Linked DNA regions of Homo sapiens: region 2 is linked to region 1. Evidence: promoter capture Hi-C in human tissues and cell types (Jung and others, 2019). All regions are on one chromosome and are shown on one strand. Each heading gives the region's core, a stretch centred on a gene start or on the middle of the fragment in contact. The rest is flanking DNA. Distances are from core to core; before and after follow the strand shown.

Evidence for each region. The method cuts DNA at HindIII sites, captures the fragments that hold promoters and counts their contacts. A contact is called where the count stands out against the background at its distance.
Region 2: a fragment that was not itself captured here is called in contact with the fragment with the promoter of NEK6 in region 1 in 1 of the 25 tissues and cell types used here (dorsolateral prefrontal cortex).

The regions. Positions count from the first base shown.
Region 1 is chr9:124,255,572-124,259,648 of GRCh38, reverse strand. It overlaps NEK6 (NIMA related kinase 6), which reads right to left and starts at 1,700. Exons shown (of 10, transcript NM_014397.6): 1 at 1,564-1,700. It overlaps LOC613206 (a long non-coding RNA gene), which reads left to right. Exons shown (of 2, transcript NR_149024.1): 2 at 155-439. RefSeq lists an enhancer at 138-1,083 and silencers at 1,121-1,490, 1,551-1,680. The HindIII fragment of the contact is 13,117 bases long and covers 1-4,077 here.
Region 2 is chr9:123,538,067-123,542,143 of GRCh38, reverse strand. All of the region lies in intron 13 of DENND1A (DENN domain containing 1A), which reads left to right. Among named protein-coding and RNA genes, the nearest start is that of MIR7150, 54 kb to the right of the region's middle. The HindIII fragment of the contact is 4,894 bases long and covers 1-4,077 here.

The sequences.
Region 1 (4,077 bases), core at 451-2,950:
GCATATTTTATTTGGGGGTGGGGGACGCAGCGAGGGCTTGGCCTTGATGGGGGAAGGAGAGGGGGCATTTCCAGCAAACCCAGAAGGTGTTTTCTTTTTTTCATTTTCAGGAGAAAAAAGAAAAAGAATGTGGGTCTTTTTTGCTTCCTTCCAGGTTTTGTTTGCTAAAAGAAGACGTCCAAAGTTCATTCGGTAAGCTCAAACTCGCTGAGTCCAAACTCGCTGAGTCCGGGGCAGGCGCTTCCAGACGGCTCTGCGTCCCTTTCAATGAAATTCTTCTTCCATTAACGACAGGGTTTTTAAACGTGCCTCCAAGACCTGCCTGCACGTACTGTACACCAAACTAAGGCGACATTTTCCCCCAAAAAAGGCAAGCTGAATTTGGAAAAGTCAGACCAACTAGGGAGCTCTGGAATTTCTAAAGTTTGCCTTAAAGCAATTAAGACTTTCAGCTGCAAAGATTTTCAACAGTTAGAGAGCACGCACACACACAAAAGCCTGTCAGTCAAAACTGCAAGGACAGACCTCGGAAGCTGGTGTCCCAAGCCCGCTGTGATCAATTTGTTACTGTCCTGGGATTCACACTTGGAGCCTAGGAGAGGTATAAATAAATCAAAAGATCCGTCTACTTAGCAGGGCAGGCAGAGAGGCCCCCACATACACAGGCAAGTCTAGGGTCAGCCCCCCAGGCCTGGCTGGAGAGAGACAAGAACAAAGACAGGAGAGCCTGGAGGATATTTAGGAAAACACACGTCCTCGGGTGCCCGGCCGAGGGGCCCACCACAGCCTCCGCTCGCCCAGCCTGTGTATGCAGAGAGGGTCCTGCCAGTGGCCCTGCCGCAGCCTGGCTCTAAGACCTTTGCCTCTGTCAGGCCCAGCCAGGCTCTGAGTCTGCCCTCCTGGCCCCTGGTTCACCGGATCAGGCCCAGCCCCGACCCCCAGCCCATGCCAGGCCGCTTCTCTCTCCACGGGCTCCCTGGCTCGGGGGCCATCACTGTGCAAAGGCCTGGTGGGCGCAAAGGGGGCCGGCCCCTCAACCTCAGTAATAAACACGCTCGCACGGCCCTGCACACTCGTTATACTCACACCCACACAGGCATACTTTCGCCCTTCTAGGCTCACGCATGTGCTTGCACACAAATCACTTTGGAATGCACACACGTGCACACACACACTCCCTGAGACCCGCACGTACTCCCTGCGGCGCCCGGCACACTCCTCCGCCCGTCGTCCCCACTCGGGAAGTGGGTAGCGGGGAGCCATGCCCGCGTCCCCGCACGCACTCACCCCAACAACGCCACCAGACGCTCCGGGGTGCACACGCACACCCGCCGGGGACGCGCACACCCCGGGACACGCGGACACGCCGCCCCCGCCCGCCCGGCCGCCGACACGCTCAGCCCCGCGCGGCCACACTCGCGCCCGCCTCCCGCTCTCCCCCGCGGAGCCGTGGGCGCGCGCCCGCCCTCGGCCCGGCTGGGGGTGACGGCCCCGCCGCCCGGCCCCCGCCCTTCTCCGGGCCGCGGGGCCCCACCGGCCCGGCCCCAGCCCCAGGCGACTCACCGGCGCGCGGGCGGGCTCGGCTGCCGCTGGGGGACCGGTGCGCTGGCCCGCGGGCGGCTGGAGCGGTGCGTCCCACACGAGTTTGCGGCGCAGCGGCCGCACGCCCGTCAGCTCGGTTCCGCCGCCGCCGCCACCGCCTGCGCGGGCCCGCGCGCCCGCGCGCCCGCCCCTCCCCGCCGCGGGGCCGCGCCGCCCCCAGCGCTCGTGCGCGCTGCCGCCACGCAAGCTTGAGGGGCGGGGGGCGCCCCGGCGGCGTCCTTCCTGGGCCTGGACCCCTCGACTCCGCCGAGTTCTGCGGCCGATCCGCTCGGCCGAGGAACCCCTTCCCCATTTCAGAGATGGGAAGACTGAGGCCCAGACTCACAGGGCGCAGGCCGGCGTCTCCCCATCTTCTCCGGCTCTAGACTTATGATGAGGGTCTGCAGTCAGCCAACCCTTGGACTCCTGTGCGTCTTCGGATTCCCCATCGCCTAGCATTGCTCCTACCACAGCCCTAGTCATACTGAAATTGGCACAGTAACAAGCACTTATTGTGCACCAGCTGAATGCAGGCACTGAAGTAGGCTCCAAGAGTATTCCGATGAGGGGAAGGCCCTGCCCCCTGCCCTCAAAGTGCCAGCGACTCTTCATCTGGAGCTCCCACTTCCTGTGGCCCCCGGGGGACCAGCAAGAGCCAATGTGCAGAGGTTTCTGGAAGTAGTAAAAGTCCCCACTAAAGAATGTTGAACGCCCCCTCTAGAAGTCAGAGCCTCCCTGAGACCCAAGCAGCTCAGTTCTCACTTCACCTCCTCCCCGCACCGAGAGCGGCCGCTCCTGGCTGGGCTGTTTCCACCCCTGCTGCCTCCCCTCCACATTCAAAACTGTGCTGCACCCCAGGAGGGCTGGAGCCAGGGACACTGACTGCCTGCTTGGGCGCAGCACTGTACTGGGCACAGGGTGAATGCCCGTCTGGCTTCTGTTTGCCAAATGAGTGGAAGTGCTTCAACTGGCCGTGATCTGTAATAATGACACCAACGGAGCGTCCACCACGTGTGCCAACGTTACCCTTGTGCCCATTTTACAGATGGGCTTTGAGGCTTAGAAATGAAATTTCAGGCTGGGTGCGGTGGCTCACACCTGTAATCCCAGTACTATGGGAGGCTGAGGTGGGAGGATGCCTTGAGGCTGGGAGTTTGAGGCCAGCCTGGGCAATATAGCAAAACCCCATGTCTACAGAAAAATGTAAGAATTAGCTGGGTGTGGTAGTGCCTGCCTGCAGTCCCAGCTACTCGGGACGCTGAGGCGGGAGGGTCTCTTGAGCATAGGAGTTAGCAGCTGCAGTGAGCTATGATCGCACCACTGCACTCCAACCTGGACAACAACAATAAAAAGCAAATTCTTTTGTTCAAAGTCACCCAGATGGTAAGTGGTTGAGCTGGAAAGTGCACGGCAGATTGTCTAATTCCAGTGCCTGTGTGGCCAATCACTAGGCAGCCCTGCCTCAGGAACAGCATAGCCCTGGGCTTCTGGAACAAGAGGGCAGACGAGGCAGCAGCTGGCCCACAGGAGCGGGCCTGGTCCCAGCTCTTGTGGATGAAAATGCAGACATCACAAACCAATGGGGAGGAAATGGATTGTTCTGCAAATTGTTTAGCCGTTTAGCTGGAGATCTGTTTACAGCCTTGCCTCCCATGATATACACCACAATAAATGTCAGACAGATTGAAAAGTTAAATAGAAGAAATAAACACTGCAACAAATAATAGAAAGAAATCGAAGTTCTGAGACAGCGTATTGCAGTGTTACTAGAGGATTTGTGATACTGGCCATATTCATGCAGCAAACATTAGTTCAGTCATTGGTTCACCCGACACATCTATGAGCACCTTCCATGGGCCAGGTACTTTTCTAGGCACTGGGATAAAGGAGTGAACAAAATATGGCCCTTTCTTGGGGCTTCAGTCAAGGGGGAGGGATGGGGTGGGAGGAAGACACTGAATATCTGCCATTTCAAGGATAAGAAGTTTGGGCCGGGCGCGGTGGCTCACGCCTGTAATCCCAGCACTTTGGGAGGCCGACGCAGGCGGATCACAAGGTCAGGAGATCGAGACCATCCTGGATAACACGGTGAAACCCTGTCTCTACTAAAAATACAAAAAAATAGCCGGGCATGGTGGCAGGCGCCTGTAGTCCCAGCTACTTGGGAGGCTGAGGCAGGAGAATGGCGTGAACCCGGGAGGCGAAGTTTGCAGTGAGCCGAGATCGCGCCACTACACTCCAGCCTCAGTGACAGAGCGAGACTCTGTCTCCAAAAAAAAAAAAAAAAGAAGTTTGGTGGAGAAATAACTCGGAAGGGTAGGAGGACCCAGGGGTGCTTTTTTATAGGGGGTGCTGGAAGAAGGCCTTTCTGATGAGGTGACATCTGAGCAGAGGCCTGAATGAGGGAGTGGGAGAAGTCAGTAGGGGCCCACTGTGTGGAGGGCAGGTCCCATGTTCTGGCAGCTATTCAGTTAAGCTACAGAGCAAGAACCAGAA
Region 2 (4,077 bases), core at 462-2,961, 720 kb after region 1:
CATATGTTGATTGACTACCCCCCAAACTTCAGTGAATTTGCTGACGTTTTATTAGCTACCAATTACTATCTAACAGATGTCTAATTTCTTAATGTATTCTCTTTCTGGAGGCACACAGGTAGAGGAAAGCTTGCAAAGTGTTCGATGGAATATTTGAGTGTTGGAGAGGCACTGTGTGTGCACTGTAGTTTGGTACTGGCTAAGGAAGGTTGAGATTCCAGGAGAGCTACTTTTTCAGAGCTATGAAACTTTGGGAAGCCCTCCCTCCTCCCTGAACCGCAGGTTTTTCATTTGTTAAGTGGGGATAAAAATGCCACCCTCGTAAAATTGTTTTCAGAATTAAATGCGATGGCAGATGGGAAGTACTCGTCCTCTGTGCATCTTTCCTGCCCTCCACAGCAAACTTTTTATCCAGTGAATGCCCAATTCACCAGCAGTCACATTCCATGGAGGCGTGGCAGGATTTTTGGAAACCCTTTAACTGGAGATTATTTATGTTTGGCTTGCTGGTCCCTGTTAGTGATGTGACCTGGCAGGTCTCCACTCAACCCTGTTTCCATCAGTCACAGCTCACTGGCATTATTCATAAGCTAGTTGCTTGGGACTTTTCTTTGCTCATATTCCTACTGCGAGGAATGTTCACTCTCGTCTTCACAATAAAATGGTCTGGAGGTTTTGAGGTTGTCTTGAGCAAGTCAGCTGCCAGCTTAAAAGGTCATTATCTGTTCTCTGAAGGGAAACTTTTATCCCGGGTTGATTAGTTTTATCCTGGGTTGATAAGTGTTTATGCAAAAGAAGTAGGGGTAGGAAAAACCTGGTACTCACTGAACTCCTACTTCTTGCCCTTTATGTATATTTTCTTGGTTAAATGTACACAGTATTATCCCCAACTTGCTAAATAAGAAACATAAAGCAGAGAGAATTGAAATTACTTAATGCAACAACTTTGCTCAAACATTTACCAAGACCCTACTAAACCAGGGGACTATTCTAGATGCTTGGAATTGCAGCAGTGAACAAAATGAAGTCCTAGTCCTCAAATCTCTTCTACCTTAGGAAGACACAGAGAGTAAACAAAGATGAAAATCAACATATAATATGTCTGATGGTAATAAGTGTTATGCAGAAAAAGAAAGCTAAGGAAGAAGATAGAGAAAGCTCCTGGGTGAGGTGAGGTAGGTGCCAAGAAGAAAGAGTCGGACTAGAGCCAGGTCTGTCTGCCTCTAGAACTCACGGTTTTTCCACTGGTCCCATGCTGCTTCCGATCCTCTTTGGTGATGGTTTCCAGCATCTAGGGAGGAAACATGAACTCCTCTAGCATCTTGCTTCTTAGTCTAAAGCTGATAATTCAATGTGTCAGGGTGGTGACTTTGCATTCCTGGGGTACAGAAAACATTTTTGCCGTACTCCCTGCTGTCAGCAGCATGTAGCTGTTTCTTTCGTCTCTCTGGTTTCACAGACACATTTAGTCTTGATGCAGAAAGCATCTTGCCAGCTTGGACTCGAGCCCTAGTGCTGAGGAGACCAGTCTGTCCTAAAGGAGGGTCTCTGTGACTGCTGGGCTCAAAGGAACTCATCACTTCTTTTTTCTCTTCTTCCAAAAAGTGATGCTCCAGGGAGTGGCTTATGTCATCTTAATACCTGTTTCCTGATCTTTAGGACTCACCAAGACAGTCTAATTCTATTTTTAAAAATGCTGCCACCTCCTCTGTACCAGGCCCAGTGGCAGGCACTGAAGAAAAGAGATGGAACCTACTTAACAGGAGTCAGCCAGACCTGGGTTCCAAGTACCACTTTTCTATTTCTGTAATTTTGGGCATGCTACTTAACTCCTTAGCTTCAGTTTTGTCATCTGTAAAATGGGAAGAATAAATGTAATCTGCCTCACAGGATTGGTGTGAAGATTAAGTTAGATAATACAGCATGGTACCTGGCTCTTCGTAAGAGCTTAATATTAGTTTTTAAAATATACCACAGTAACCATTTAATTTATAGCTGAGTTTACATTTTGTCCTATGAGGAAACAGTTGGGTAGATACAAGATTTTCTTTCTCAAAGTGTATGTATTTTAGTGGAAAATACAGTAATAATCCTCATCATGCTGACACTGTTTACAAAGAAGTGTTGGCATTCAATCTTTATAGTGTATTTCCCACTAGGTAGGTACCGCTATACCTTTAAAAATCTATTTATTATAAAATAAAACATAAAACTGCCTTAATCAAGTGGATGATGTAATGAATTTTTTTTTTTTTTTTTTTGAGACGGAGTCTCACTTTTTCACCCAGGCTGGAGTGCAGTGGCGCGATCTCGGCTCACTGCAAGCTCTGCCTCCCGGGTTCACGCCGTTCTCCTGCCTCAGCCTCCTGAGTAGCTGGGACTACAGGCGCCCGCCACCGTGCCCGGCTAATTTTTTGTATTTTTAGTGGAGATGGGGTTTCACCGTGTTAGCCAGGATGGTCTCGCTCTCCTGACCTCATGATCCACCTGCCTCGGCCTCCCAAAGTGCATGAATTTTTATAAGACCAACACTTTCCAAAACAAGAAACAGAACTTTCCTGCCCACCCTAGAATCCCCTTTCATCCCAACTCTTTCCTTTTCTCCATAAGTAACCACTATCTTGATTTCATGCCACTATCTTGATTTCATGGTAATCACTTCCTTGCATTAAAAAAAAATAGTTTTATTACCCAAATGTTTATGCCTGGAAACTATAGGTGACTTTTTCTGTTTTAAAAATATATGACTTTTAATTCTCTTTCAACTTATAGGTTCCTCCTCCACCCCTTTCATTTACTTACAATTTATTTGTGTATGAACTCAAGCCTGTGGTGATTTCCCACTGTGTGAGTTTTGCTGATGGCATACCATGTTCCTCTGTCCCCTGTATTTCCTGCTAATTGACAGTTGATCCAGAGATTGGATAGACTGAGGTTCAGTCCCTTTTGCAAGACTGTAGGAGGCATACCAGGTCTTGTTTTGTCTGTTTTAGTGATCTTAGTAGCCAATGTGTTTAATATCTATATCTGTTTATTCACTGGGAGTTGAAAAATGGTGATATTCTAAGCTTATAATTTGTTTTTCATTTATTGGTTGGAATATTTTTATAAAGAGACAGTTTCCCTCATTTAATATTTACTCAGTGTTAGCGTTCATACAAGCCAAAGCAAAATAAATGTTTGACTCTTTCTCTTTATTTACCACTTTTTAATATAATGAATTGTTGGTTCCCTATCATCCTCCAAAGGTGACAATTGATACATACATAAATATGTATGAATTCATATATATATATATATATATATATATATATATATATATATATATATATATGTATGAGTTGTCACCTTTGGATTCATACACACACACACACACACACACACACACACACACTCACACACATAATTGCCTGGTGGATTTCAACATATTTGATGGATTTTGGTTCATTGCGATTGTCATTTTTTATTTAATTACTTTTAATTTTTAATTATTAAAATAATTATTTTATTAAACTCAAACCCTCCCATCTTTGGTCAGTGAGAAATACTTCAGGTTGACACCTGAGTACTTTTTTTCTACATGAACCTAGTAGTCTTTGATAGCTCTCTTGCTATCTGATATTACAAGAGGTTCCAGGCTTATCTTGTACATCCTACCCCCAAACCTGGAATCAGACATTTCTTCAGGAAGCACTGGTTTCTTTTTAGTGAGAAATTATATCTCAAGACCAAAACCTGGCTTAGGATACTCATTGCTACTGAGTTGGCCATTGTTTCTAGGCCTTTTCATTGAACAGAGCTAGGAAACATATGCTTATGTACGTAAATCTCTTGTCGTTCATATTGATACTTCCAATTAAAATTCAAGACTACAGAGCTTTTACTTAACCTCTTCTCTATTACATTTGTATTTCCTCTCTCCCATATGAAAATTCTGATTCTCAAGGGCAGAAGGAATAATAAAATACTCCAGAATTACTAATTTAGTTTCATAATCTCCAAAAATAATACACATACTACCATGAGCATAATTACAGAAAACCTTTTAACTATTTTTTGGTATGTTCTTTCCTCCCA